2 separate regions of the Homo sapiens genome follow, and region 2 is linked to region 1. The links are contacts of gene promoters, found by promoter capture Hi-C in blood cells and fetal thymus (Javierre and others, 2016). All regions are on one chromosome and are shown on one strand. Each heading gives the region's core, a stretch centred on a gene start or on the middle of the fragment in contact. The rest is flanking DNA. Distances are from core to core; before and after follow the strand shown. Region 1 holds the start of CASP5 (caspase 5). Region 2 overlaps GRIA4 (glutamate ionotropic receptor AMPA type subunit 4).

Evidence for each region. The method cuts DNA at HindIII sites, captures the fragments that hold promoters and counts their contacts. A CHiCAGO score of 5 or more calls a contact.
Region 2: a contact is called between a fragment that was not itself captured here and the fragment with the promoter of CASP5 in region 1, in 1 of 17 cell types (M1 macrophages). The highest score is 5.8, in M1 macrophages.

Annotation. Positions count from the first base shown.
Region 1 is chr11:105,019,034-105,025,583 of GRCh38, reverse strand. It overlaps CASP5 (caspase 5), which reads left to right and starts at 2,416. Exons shown (of 10, transcript NM_004347.5): 1 at 2,416-2,454. The coding sequence starts at 2,448. All of the region lies in intron 1 of LOC124902742 (a long non-coding RNA gene), which reads right to left. It overlaps CASP1 (caspase 1), which reads left to right. Exons shown (of 9, transcript NM_001257118.3): 9 at 1-76. The HindIII fragment of the contact is 8,276 bases long and covers 1-5,638 here.
Region 2 is chr11:105,851,682-105,858,524 of GRCh38, reverse strand. The region is part of intron 4 of GRIA4 (glutamate ionotropic receptor AMPA type subunit 4); the gene reads right to left. Among named protein-coding and RNA genes, the nearest start is that of MSANTD4, 170 kb to the left of the region's middle. The HindIII fragment of the contact is 1,331 bases long and covers 754-2,084 here.

The sequences.
Region 1 (6,550 bases), core at 1,167-3,666:
CTGTAAAGGTTTTTGGAATTATGTCTGCTGAATAATAAACTTTTTTGAAATAATAAATCTGGTAGAAAAATGAAAACTTGTCCTCATTTTTCTCCCACACTGAAGAAACAGGGACTGGAACTTAGAGTGACTAAGGAATTTAGAGTGTTTGACTTAATCTGTCAGACCCAAACTGGCTATTGGCACCTTTCTTTCCCAGAACTTAAAGTAAAATAAAATATAAAAATTTAAAAAAGAAAATCAGACTTACAAACATAGCAATGTTATTAATTACTTTCTTGAACAAAAATTTATTTTGTGCCATTTTTAAAAAAAGAAAAATCGTTTGCTGGGCTTTCTGCTTTGGGGATGTGATATAAGTTACAGCAGGTATCTGACTTCAAATAATTTAGAGCTCAGCAGGAGAGACGGGGGAAGACAGCTAGTTATGACAGCGACAGTGTAGTGTGATAAAGAACTTTTCCCAAATCCCACAGTTTGCTACTGACAAATCCATGAACTTGCATGTTTCTACCCTTTGCAAAAGTATTTAAGACAAAGTAAGTTTTGAATCAACCCTCAGTAGTTCACAGACTTCTTGAAAAGATAAGACAGCCATCCAAAATGAAGCGCTTGGCAGATGGTGCCTGACACCCTGAAGAAACTCTAGGATGCATGGTGTGCACAGTGAAGTCCTGGCATGGTGCAGAGAAAACGAGTTTGGGGTGAAATCATGCACTCAGGGATGTTAAGATTTAGGGAGGATTCGAAGAACTACCCCTTACTTGCAAATATGTTTTTTTCTAATATTTAACAGATTAAATGAGAGTTAATTTCTGACTTCTTAAACACCTTCATAGTTGAACACATTACAGTCTCTCTCTCTCTCTCTTTTTTTTTTTTTTTACCTTTTATTAACTGTTTCTCTGGGCATATCTCTTCTGTGTTATCATGCATACTCTACTACAACCTGAGACTACATCTGTGATCAGTCTTTGCTCAGAGAATATCAAAAAGGAGAAGTGAATTGCCACCCTAAGTAAAAATTAACTGTTAAAGCAGTTTTAGTCAGTTGAAGAACAGCATTCCAGGAAGTAGATAAGAGGATTCCTTCAGAACTGTCTCCAATCAAAGCGTAAGATGACAGGGAGATGGGGAGGAGAAGACTCCATCATGATTCCTCAGCACAGTTTAAACAAGAAATACATTTATTGAATAAACAATCCTTTCCTTGTTTCTTTTTGCTGTTGTTGTTGACTTTGTTGAGTATCAGTTGGTTATAGGTGTGTGGCTTTATTTTGGGGTTCTCTATTCTGTTCCATTGGGCTTTGTGTCTGTTTTTTTTGTACGAATACCTTGCTGTTGTGGTTACTGTAGACTTCTAGCATAGCTTGAAGTCCAGTAATGTGATGCATCCATCTTTTTGAAAAGCAGTTTGGAGATTTACCAAATAACTAAAAAAAGAACTATCATTTGTCCAAGCATCCCATTACTGACTGAATCCTCAAAGGAAAATGTACTGTTCTATCAAAAAGACATGTGCTTTCAAATGTTTGTCGCAGCACTATTCACTGTAGCCAAAATAATAGAATCAACCCAGGTGTCCATCAATGGTGGATTGGATTTAAAAAAATGTGGTACACTGCTACTATGGAATGTTACACAGCCATAAAAATGAAACCCTGCCCTTTGCAGCAACATGGATGCAACTGGAGGCCATTATTCTAAGCAAATTAATGCAGAAACAGAAAACCAAATATCACATAATCTCACTTGTAAGTTCTAGCTAAATATTGTGTACACATGGACATAAAGACGGGAATAACAGACACAGGGAAATACCAGAGGGAGGAATGAAGGAAGAAGGCAAGAGCCGAAAAACTATGTACTGGGTGCTATTCTCACTACCTAGGTAATAGGTTAAATTGTACTACAAACCTCTGCATCACCTAATATACTCTTGTAACAAACCTGCATATGTACCCCTGAAACTCAAATAAAAATTGAAATGAAAAATAAAGAAACCCAAGATATACAAAATATTTGGTTAATTCTTATGGGAAGATGCAAGGAAACTAGTTAGATTTTACTCATTCAGGACATGTGTTTTTAGACGAGCAGAGGTAGAAAAACTGACAGATCAGAAGAGAGGGATGAATAAAAGAAGATGTGGGGCTATGGAGAGAGAAAAGGAAAAAGAAAACCAGGCTGAGGTTTCAACCCACAAAACAATGTTTTGTCATTTGCATTTTTTTTCCCCAGGGAAGAATCTAGAGTTCAAGAATAGAAAGCCAATTTGCTTACTACAGGGCACTTCCCAATGATGAAACTATAGGTTCCCAGAAGCAACTTCCCATAATCTGTAATCACTTGTCCCCACTCCCTGCAATAAGGAAGTACCTAGTGTATTTTATCTCTGAGTCTGAGGCACTTTCCAGTGCTGTACAAAGAGACAGAGGCTGTTAGCTATGGCTGGTGAGTCTGGGCCCTTTTCTGACTAGCAGCTGGGTACTCAGGTCTTAGAAAAATCTTGATTTATTGCTATGTGACAGGCAGAAATACCAAAAGGGAAATCAACCAATAGTGTGCATGCTGAATCTTTCTCTTATTGGTGGTATGTAGTTTGAATCCTGAGACTGTGTAGAGACACTGAAGGAGAGTATGTTCTCTAGATGTTTTCAAGCCAGAAAAAGGTTAATTCCTTTCTTTCAGCTTCTGGTAATCAAAGAGAGAGTAAGGAAAGACAGAGTAAGTTATTTGTGTGAGAAAACTCCGGAAATTTCTAAATGCACTCTGAAATCTTCTCTGCTTCCTCTTGATTCCAAATTAATCCTCCAGACTATGAACCTTCTCCCCACAATCAGATCTGAGAGCCTCTGTGTTCTCAACGTGTTGTCATCTCTTATCTTGAATTATCTTATTGGTCTGTTTAAAGTGATTGCATTTTTCCACCTTTCTATGTAGTCCTGGTACTAACTCTTATAATGTAATATATCTTAGGTTGCTATCATAGACTTTTAACTGTCTTCCCACTCCCAAAAACTTAACCCTTCAGTCCATACTGCACACTACTTTCAGGCCAACTGTCTTATACACAGAAGCTAAAAAAGCCTATGAGTTGGAGTCCTGGGCTACTTAAGCAGCTCGTATTCCAGCAGGTCATATTGCGTCTTTGGTTTCATTCTCCTCACTGGAAAAAGGAAGAAACTGGAATAGATCAGTGCTTTCTAAACCTTATAACATATATGAATAATCTGCAGTCTTTTTTTTTCTTTAATTTATTTATTTATTATTATTATACTTTAAGTTTTAGGGTACATGTGCACAATGTGCAGGTTAGTTACATATGTATACATGTGACATGCTGGTGGGCTGCACCCACTAACTCGTCATCTAGCATTAGGTATACCTCCCAATGCTATCCCTCCCCCCTCCCCCCACCCCACAACAGGCTCCAGAGTGTGATGTTCCCCTTCCTGTGTCCATGTGTTCTCATTGTTCAGTTCCCACCTATGAGTGAGAATATGCGGTGTTTGGTTTTTTGTTCTTGTGATAGTTTACTGAGAATGATGATTTCCAATTTCATCCATGTCCCTACAAAGGACATGAACTCATCATTTTTTATGGCTGCATAATATTCCATGGTGTATATGTGCCACATTTTCTTAATCCAGTCTATCATTGTTGGACATTTGGGTTGGTTCCAAGTCTTTGCTATTGTGAATAATGCCACAATAAACATACGTGTGCATGTGTCTTTATAGCAGCATGATTTATAGTCCTTTGGGTATATACCCAGTAAAGGGATGGCTGGGTCAAATGGTATTTCTAGTTCTAGATCCCTGTGGAATCGCCACACTGACTTCCACAATGGTTGAACTAGTTTACAGTCCCACCAACAGTGTAAAAGTGTTCCTATTTTTCCACATCCTCTCCAGCACCTGTTGTTTCCTGACTTTTTAATGATTGCCATTCTAACTCGTGTGAGATGGTATCTCATTGTGGTTTTGATTTGCATTTCTCTGATGGCCAGTGATGGTGAGCACTTTTTCATGTGTTTTTTGGCTGCATAAATGTCTTCTTTTGAGAAGTGTCTGTTCATGTCCTTCGCCCACTTTTTGATGGGGTTGTTTGTTTTTTTCTTGTAAATTTGTTTGAGTTCATTGTAGATTCTGGATATTAGCCCTTTGTCAGACGAGTAGGTTGCGAAAATTTTCTCCCATTTTGTAGGTTGCCTGTTCACTCTGACGGTAGTTTCTTTTGCTGTGTAGAAGCTCTTTAGTTTAATTAGATCCCATTTGTCAATTTTGGCTTCTGTTGCCATTGCTTTTGGTGTTTTAGACATGAAGTCCTTGCCCATGCCTATGTCCTGAATGGTAATGTCTAGGTTTTCTTCTAGGGTTTTTATGGTTTTAGGTCTAACTTTTAAGTCTTTAATCCATCTTGAATTAATTTTTGTATAAGGTGTAAGGAAGGGATCCAGTTTCAGCTTTCTACATATGGCTAGCCAGTTTTCCCAGCACCATTTATTAAATAGGGAATCCTTTCCGCATTGCTTGTTTGTCTCAGGTTTGTCAAAGATCAGATAGTTGTAGATATGCGGCATTATTTCTGAGGGCTCTGTTCTGTTCCATTGATCTATATCTCTGTGTTGGTACCAGTACCATGCTGTTTTGGTTACTGTAGCTTTGTAGTATAGTTTGAAGTCAGGTAGTGTGATGCCTCCAGCTTTGTTCTTTTGGCTCAGGATTGACGTGGCAATGCGGGCTCTTTTTTGGTTCCATATGAACTGTAAAGTAGTTTTTTCCAATTCTGTGAAGAAAGTCATTGGTAGCTTGATGGCGATGGCATTGAATCTGTAAATTATCTTGGGCAGTATGGCCATTTTTCACGATATTGATTCTTCCTACCCATGAGCATGGAATGTTCTTCCATTTGTTTGTACCCTCTTTTATTTCCTTGAGCAGTGGTTTGTAGTTCTCCTTGAAGAGGTCCTTCACATCCCTTGTAAGTTGGATTCCTAGGTATTTTATTCTCTTTGAAGCAATTGTGAATGGGAGTTCACTCATGATTTGGCTCTCTGTTTGTCTGTTGTTGGTGTATAAGAATGCTTGTGATTTTTGTACATTGATTTTGTATCCTGAGACTTTGCTGAAGTTGCTTATCAGCTTAAGGAGATTTTGGGCTGAGACAATGGGGTTTTCTAGATATACAATCATGTCGTCTGCAAACAGGGACAATTTGACTTCCACTTTTCCTAATTGAATACCCTTTATTTTCTTCTCCTGCCTGATCGCCCTGGCCAGAACTTCCAACACTATGTTGAATAGGAGTGGTGAGAGAGGGCATCCCTGTCTTGTGCCAGTTTTCAAAGGGAATGCTTCCAGTTTTTGCCCATTCAGTATGATATTGGCTGTGGGTTTGTCATAGATAGCTCTTATTATTTTGAAATACATCCCATCAATACCTAATTTATTGAGAGTTTTTAGCATGAAGCGTTGTTGAATTTTGTCAAAGAACTTTTCTGCATCTATTGAGATAATCACGTGGTTTTTGTCTTTGGTTCTGTTTATATGCTGGATTATATTTATTGATTTGCGTATATTGAACCAGCCTTGCATCCCAGGGATGAAGCCCCCTTGATCATGGTGGATAAGCTTTTTGATGTGCTGCTAGATTCGGTTTGCCAGTATTTTATTGAGGATTTTTGCATCAATGTTCATCAAGGATATTGGTCTAAAATTCTCTTTTTTGGTTGTGTCTCTGCCCGGCTTTGGTATCAGGATGATGCTGGCCTCATAAAATGAGTTAGGGAGGATTCCCTCTTTTTCTATTGATTGGAATAGTTTCAGAAGGAATGGTACCAGTTCCTCCTTGTACCTCTGGTAGAATTCGGCTGTGAATCCATCTGGTCCTGGACTCTTTTTAGTTGGTAAGCTTTTGATTATTGCCACAATTTCAGATCCTGTTATTGGTCCATTCAGAGATTCAACTTCTTCCTGGTTTAGTCTTGGGAGAGTGTATGTGTCCAGAAACTTATCCATTTCTTCTAGATTTTCTAGTTTATTTGCGTAGAGGTGTTTGTAGTATTCTCTGATGGTAGTTTGTATTTCTGTGGGATCGGTGGTGATATCCCCATTATCATTTTTTATTGCGTCTATTTGATTCTTCTCTCTTTTTTTCTTTATTAGTCTTGCTAGCGGTCTATGAATTTTGTTGATCCTTTCAAAAAACCAGCTCCTGGATTCATTAATTTTTTGAAGGGTTTTTTGTGTCTCTATTTCCTTCAGTTCTGCTCTGATTTTAGTTATTTCTTGCCTTCTGCTAGCTTTTGAATGTGTTTGCTCTTGCTTTTCTAGTTCCTTTAATTGTGATGTTAGGGTGTCAATTTTGGATCTTTCCTGCTTTCTCTTGTGGGCATTTAGTGCTATAAATTTCCCTCTACACACTGCTTTGAATGCATCCCAGAGATTCTGGTATGTTGTATCTTTGTTCTCGTTGGTTTCAAAGAACATCTTTATTTCTGCCTTCATTTCATTATGTACCCAGTAGTCATTCAGGAGCAGGTTGT
Region 2 (6,843 bases), core at 170-2,669, 830 kb before region 1:
AGTATAACTAGAATGTTTATAACATAAAGAAAGAATAAATGCTTGAGGAGATGGATACTAAGTTACTCTGATGTGATCATTATGCACTGTATGCCTGTATCAAAATATTTCATGCACCCCATAAATATACACAGCTACTATGTACCTATAAGAACATTTTTAAAAAGATAGGTAATGTGAAATACAAAGGTGAAACAAAAGATAAAGATGTGATTCTTGTCTTTACAAAGAATTTACTATCTAGGAAAACCGATAGGTAAACTATCCATTATGCAAAATACACAGCATTATATAAATAAATTCAAAGTAATGAAAATAATTTTTTAGAATAGCAGAGCATATCATCGACATAATCACTTTATTAGATTATAATAGTAATTAAGGGCTTTTTCATAGTTACTAAAGAACACTGTCAATTACATATAAAATATTTTTAAGTGTTATGATATCACATAAAGATTTTATCAATTATGTTAAATAGAATCAAAATGAGGTAAGCAGTCCTGAGCTACTGCACCCTTACATGTCAACACTTATTACATCATCCATGGATAATGACCTATTTTGCATGAGTACCAATTCAGAGATGTTGCTACTCACAACAATAGCTGGGCTTATTTATTTGATGTTTTTGTTTGCAAGAGTTATTTAACTGTCAGCACACAGAGCAGCAGAAAGAGAAGCAGAATACATTTGTGCCAGGGAAGAAAGTATTTAGAAAAGAAAGAGTTATCCATATGCCCTGAAAAAGCTTTACTTGGATGAGAACTAGAAAGTGTCCATTCTGCTTTTCAATGAGAAGGTCATTGGTGCACTTAGCATGAGCAGGGTTAATGGAATGCTGGATATAGAAGACATTTTTCAGATTGAGAAATTGAGGAGAAAATGGGAAGAGGTGAGAATGTGGAAATAATCAGGGAATATCATCAGAATAATGAAGTAATAAGATGAAGGGTATGCCAGTTTGATGAATATGGGATAGAGAAACATCTAGATTATGGGAACTGGTTTGGGAAGGAGAAGACTAGGTCTGTCCCATGGGGGGTTGCTGAGCCTGAAAAGGGAACATGGCAAGGGGCATAGCAGCAGCTTGTAGTTAGTTAAATTAAAGCCTCCCTCATAAATCTTGTAAATTGCTATGGAGGTTCTTGCTGCTACATCATCAATATCTCTGGTCTGGCACAATTTGTCAGTATCCAAAACTGGTGGATTCAAGGAGAAAGGTGTGTGTGTCTGTGTGTGTCTAACGCCACTTATTGATTTGAGTCAAGAAAGGAATAAGATTCTGTAATCCTCACTGCATTTAATGCCACCATGCTGGAACTGTAGAGTAGATTTAATAACCATTTAGGTTGGACTCTTTCCAAAGCAGCTTAGTACTGAAATAACATGTTCAAAGGCCACAGTCTGGACTCCCAGGTTTCAGTACATGGAGGAATAACCAACATTGTAGCTTGGGTAAAATTACCTGCAGCTGTAACTATAGTATTTATTTATGCCGTAGTTCAAAAAGGGCATACTAAAAATAAGCAAAGATTTTCCTACTTTTACAGCCTGAAGCTATTCACGTAAACCCAAGATAAGATGGAATGTCTTGAGTTTTCCCTTTTCTACAAACACTCAAGAGTAAAAGTAGAGAATTCATCTTCAAAGATGGATTGATAATAATCATTGTTAAAGGTGGTTATTCTGGGTCCTAGATTTTTCCTAAGGCATTTTCTGACACTAACATTTACTGTCTTCTGATTCCCTAGTATTCATATTTAGTTCAGATGACATCTTATAAGAAAATTTGATACTTTAAATCTTTAAAGTTAAAGCACTGTCGTAGAGTCTGTAAGTTGGTGGTTCTCTACTACTACTTCACCCCTTCATCCAAAGCAGTGGGATTTTAACTTGGACCTATGGACAGTCAGAATAAATATATTTCCTTGCTTCTCTTTCAGCTAGATATATGGCTCTGTGACTAAGTTGTGGGCAATGGGTTATAAGTGGAACGGTTGTGTGGAGGCTTCAGGAAACTCTCCTTAAAAGACTGTATGAATATACTTTTTATCTTGCATAGCAGGTCACATTCAGAAGCTTCAAAAACTTCAGTTTATTTTGTATGTTTGGAAGGACAAGAAGGGATATGTGGAGAATTGGCATGGGCTGTGGAAAGAGCTTCTAAGACTGGAGAGGTGAACAGGCAAGGGATATATTACAAGAGCTTTCTCTATCATTTAAAGAAATTTAGGTTTTACTTCATAGACTCTCAGAAAAGAGTGACAAAACAATGTGTCTTAGAGGGATGATTACAGCTGAAGTGTGGAAAATACAATGGATGTGGGAAACACAGAAATGGGAAAATCACTTAGGAACCCACATGGTAGTAATCCAGGTGAGAAGTAATGGGGGCCAGATTTAGGACCATGCAGAGGAAGGAGAATAGTTTCTAGATTAAGGATACAGAATAAATCAGCTTAGTGATTAATGACACATAAATCATAGAGAGATGATTTGAGTCAGACTACTATCTATTCTACTGGTGGTCATTCTACTTCTATTTTCAGATTGAACTCTTAGGGTTTTTTTGACCTTCAGAAGCACATATTTTTCCATTTGGATTTCAGGTGTCAGTTGACTTCTGATGAAAACTATCCTTGCAGCCACCTCCTTCATCACCCAAAGTAGTATAATAAATTATGACAGAGGTCTGAGAAACCCATTTTTCTCTCTGGTTATAGACATCAATGATTCTAGAAACAATCTGTAGATTTTGAATATTCCCTATGAATACACTGATCTCTTTTCAAGTTTGCCTCCATCATTATTTATCTTCTTAGCACTGTGGGCCTCCACAAACATCTTTTTACAATAAAGGCAATGTGTTTCTATTTTAAGTAAAGCATTTTTGAAAAATTTGAATAATTTTAAACTCAAATAGCAAAAGACTAATTTCCAATCAGAATAAATATCTAGCATAATTACTATATAGCTATTATTTTGCTCATAAAGTACAACTTTTTCTTTTATCTGTTTTACTATATATTTTATATATCACACTATATAAAATTTATAATTCTGATTTGATACTTTTTTATATCACATTATATAAAGCTCACAGTTCCAATGTGTGTAAAAACAACCATTGTATTTTTATAAGGGAATTAAAATATATGTTTGTGAGTTAACAGGCACTCAAACAAGGTCTTTGTCTAATATTAAGCATGTAAGGTATGTAAGACATAATTTTGAGTGTCAAACCTATTCAATATTGCGATACCTTGGGAAAGCAGTGTTAAGCAAAAGATTAGACCCTTTCAAAGGGGGTTTCACCATGGAGAGAATGACTTGGACTGTAGTATGGTCCCTAAAGGATGGAAAGGGTTGATGAATAAAGATGGTGAGGAGGAAGGAGCTGCTGCATCATAAAGCAAAGGCACAGAGGCAGGAGCTTGGAGAATGCTTAATAAATTATTAATCATTGATAGTTAATAGAGCAGGCTGCTGGAGTAATGTATTCATAAACTACATTATGCTTTATTAGTATTTCACAATACAGTTGAACCTCATAACAGCCCTGTGAAGTAGATATTATCCCCACCATAAAGGTGAAGAAATAAAAACAATTTATGTGACTTACATCAAAGCATAACCCCACTAAGTGGCAGAAATGTGAATGAACTCAAGTCTTCCATTCTCCAGCTTAGGGACTTTTCACCACACTTCAGCATGCAGAGAGAGCGATGAAATTAGCAAGGAAGGATGAGGCTGTGATGTGAAGGCCTTTCAATCACAGTCACCATTAATTCCATTCTTTCTCTCACAATCACATCTCGTATTTTAGCATATTCTGTCAAGGCTACCTTCAAAATATATCAAAAACCTGGCCATTTCTTCCTACCGACACTGCCTCCACCCAGGCCCAAGCCTCTTGTTTGCAAATGCCTCTTTACATGTCTTTTATTTCCTCCACCTTTGCCCGCTTTGCACTACTCATAGCATAGCTTCAGGAATGGAACTTTTCAGGCAAGCCAGATCATACCACTTACAGGTCCAAACTCTCCAATTGCTCCTTTATACTGACGTCATCCACTGCTCTCTTGCTCTCAAACATCACCAGACATCTGGCTGCTTTGCCAGGGGTGCTCTGGCTCAGGCTTCACCCTGCTGTGCTTTCCCCAAGATGGGTCTTCAGGGTTTTGCCTTTATGTTCTTAGGTTTCTACCCAAATGCCCTCTCTTCAGTGAGGCCGTTCTGGGTTACTTTATCTAAAATTTCAGCTCCTTCATCCTGTGCTTTTCTATTCCTCTTCTCTGCTTTACTTTCTCCCCAACACTTCACCACCACCTAATATACTCTAGATTTTACTCACTCACCTTGTTTATTGTCTCTTTCCCATACTAAAAGGTAAGCTCATGAAGTCAGGAGGCTTGTTTTGTTCACTGTGCCTAGAAGAAGACTTGGCATCTAAAAGGGACTCGATAAATAGTTTTGGATAATTAAATACTGAAAGTTTAGAAATTACTCCACTGATCATTGTGAAACAATACTGAAACAGTAGAAACCTTCGAAGCTTTGGAGCAGAGAAGAGACAGATTTATAAAACTGCTTTTATAATGCTAGTTTGATATAGTGGAAATGATGCATCCGAAGAGTGGAAAGAGAAGGAGGACAGGGAATCCAAATAGGAGACTACTGAAATTAATACAGGCATAATGCCAAATCTCCTGTCACTTAGACCAACTCCAGAAAAAGTGGAAAGAAAGGAGAGTGTTGATTGTTTGCTTTTCTCTAAATTCTACACTCCCCCCACCCCACCAATCCTGTACTTATCTGTATAAGAGCCAGGAGATATTTCATTGTATCAGGTGGAGCCATATGACATTTTCATTTCTGCTGATCAAAAATAGTCAAATATCAGCAATGTCTTATTGTTCATCCCAGAGATAGCTTCTGAATGAATAATAAGTAATATTACTGACATCGGAATGAGCTGAAAACTACTTAATTTATACTTTGTACATTTTGGTCCTGAAAGAATGTGGCAAGTAAATGCAAAAACTCTACAACTCTACAAATGGCAGAGAGAGGTCATGAGTTGTAGAAGCCCAGAGTCCCACATATCTCAGCAGGAATACCTTTAGAGATATCCTAAGGTAGCCTTTAATAGTAATCTCCAATTTTCATAATCTTTATTTATAGCAACCATCCTGAGTCATTAATAAGAGCTAAAATAAGCTTCAGAAACTTAGGATTGAAGTAAGTGTGAAATTCATTTCAGAAAGGACTCCATTCTAAATGATAAAAACAGAAATATTTTTGGTTCATAAAAACAAATCCTGAGCTAACCTGCAAAACTGACTCATTAATTGAGGGTGCAAGATAGCCAGTGCTGTCCAAAGAATTCTGGTTCTTAAAAGAGCAATTAATTTATTCTACCGTATGTTGAAGTTTGAGTCCAACAGATCTCATTAATTAATCATAAAAGCAATCACTAGCAACGAAACTCAAAGAAGTGTTACACAACATATTAAGTATCAGCTTGTTATATTCACATGCCAAGCTGTGTACTGTAAATAATATTAATTTGGATCTGGCTTTTATACACAAAGCCAAAACCATTCATTTTGGTTGATTTGAAAGTGATATTTTAAACTGTTACTTTCGTCTTTTCTTTAGAGCAGGAGTAGCAGTACATAATTTTCTTGTGATGATTCTGGTGAAAGGATTTGCATACAATTATGGAGACAATTTCTGTTCCTAGCAGGAAAAAACACAGGATGAAGTAAGTATTCACCATATGATTCGCCTAATTTTTATATCCTACTGAGACTAGCTCAGTTCTAGGAAGTAATTGTAAACTCATGTCAGGGACTGAGAGTGAATACATTTGATTGCTCACTATTAAATTTCTTTAGTGGAGAAATGACACTGAGGTGATTATCTAAATACAGAGTGATTTATTGAACAGCATGCTAGGTGACAAATGATGGGATCAGTGGTAGCCTCTGTTACTTTTAACGGCAAACGTTCTGTTTCTCATTTCAACTCTGTGGTTCTGAGGCAGGTTATTTAAATTTCTTAATCTTCCACCTTTGACTTTCTATGTAATGAAGAAGATTAATGTAGGATTTTATTAGTCATGATAATCTTTTCTATAGCTGTAAATAAAAATCAGCTTCATTCCACTGTGGAGTAACTTATAAGGCTGCTGTTCATTTGAGGGAAGTAGATTGCGGATTCTTCATAGGTAAAGAAATTCATCCCTACAACTCTGGGAAAGTCATAATGTATAACTCAACATCCCACACTCCCTCCAAACGAAAAACAAAAACCTAGCTCTTTTTCTTAAATTCCGTATTTGGTCATTAGTCATTTACTTATCACTTTAGTCAGAAACCTAAGAGATTCTCTCAGACTCATTACTCAGCTTCACCCTCATCCCACACCAATCCTGACATTTCTTCCTAAATATTACATTTAAGACATTTCATGAGCAGTTCTCTATTTATTTCTTCTTTCACTTTTCACTCAATGAATATTTGTTGAGCATTTCCTACATTTCAGGCCACTGATCCAGAGGCTGCCGATATAGAAATGGAACAGTAGGATGTGCTTTTCTTCATGAAGCTTACATTCCAGTGGCTGAGGCAGACAAGAAGTAATACACAAATACATTTATAATAGAAGGACAAGAGGTAGTAAGTACTATGAAGGAAAATAAGGGAAAGGAGGAATAGAAATGACCAGGAGTGGTGACAGGAGGGATGGATGTTTATCTTCCCAAACCAATCTTTCACTGTGTCTCTTAGGTATGCGCCACTCAACTCATACTGAAGATTGGTGGTTCTCTGAATA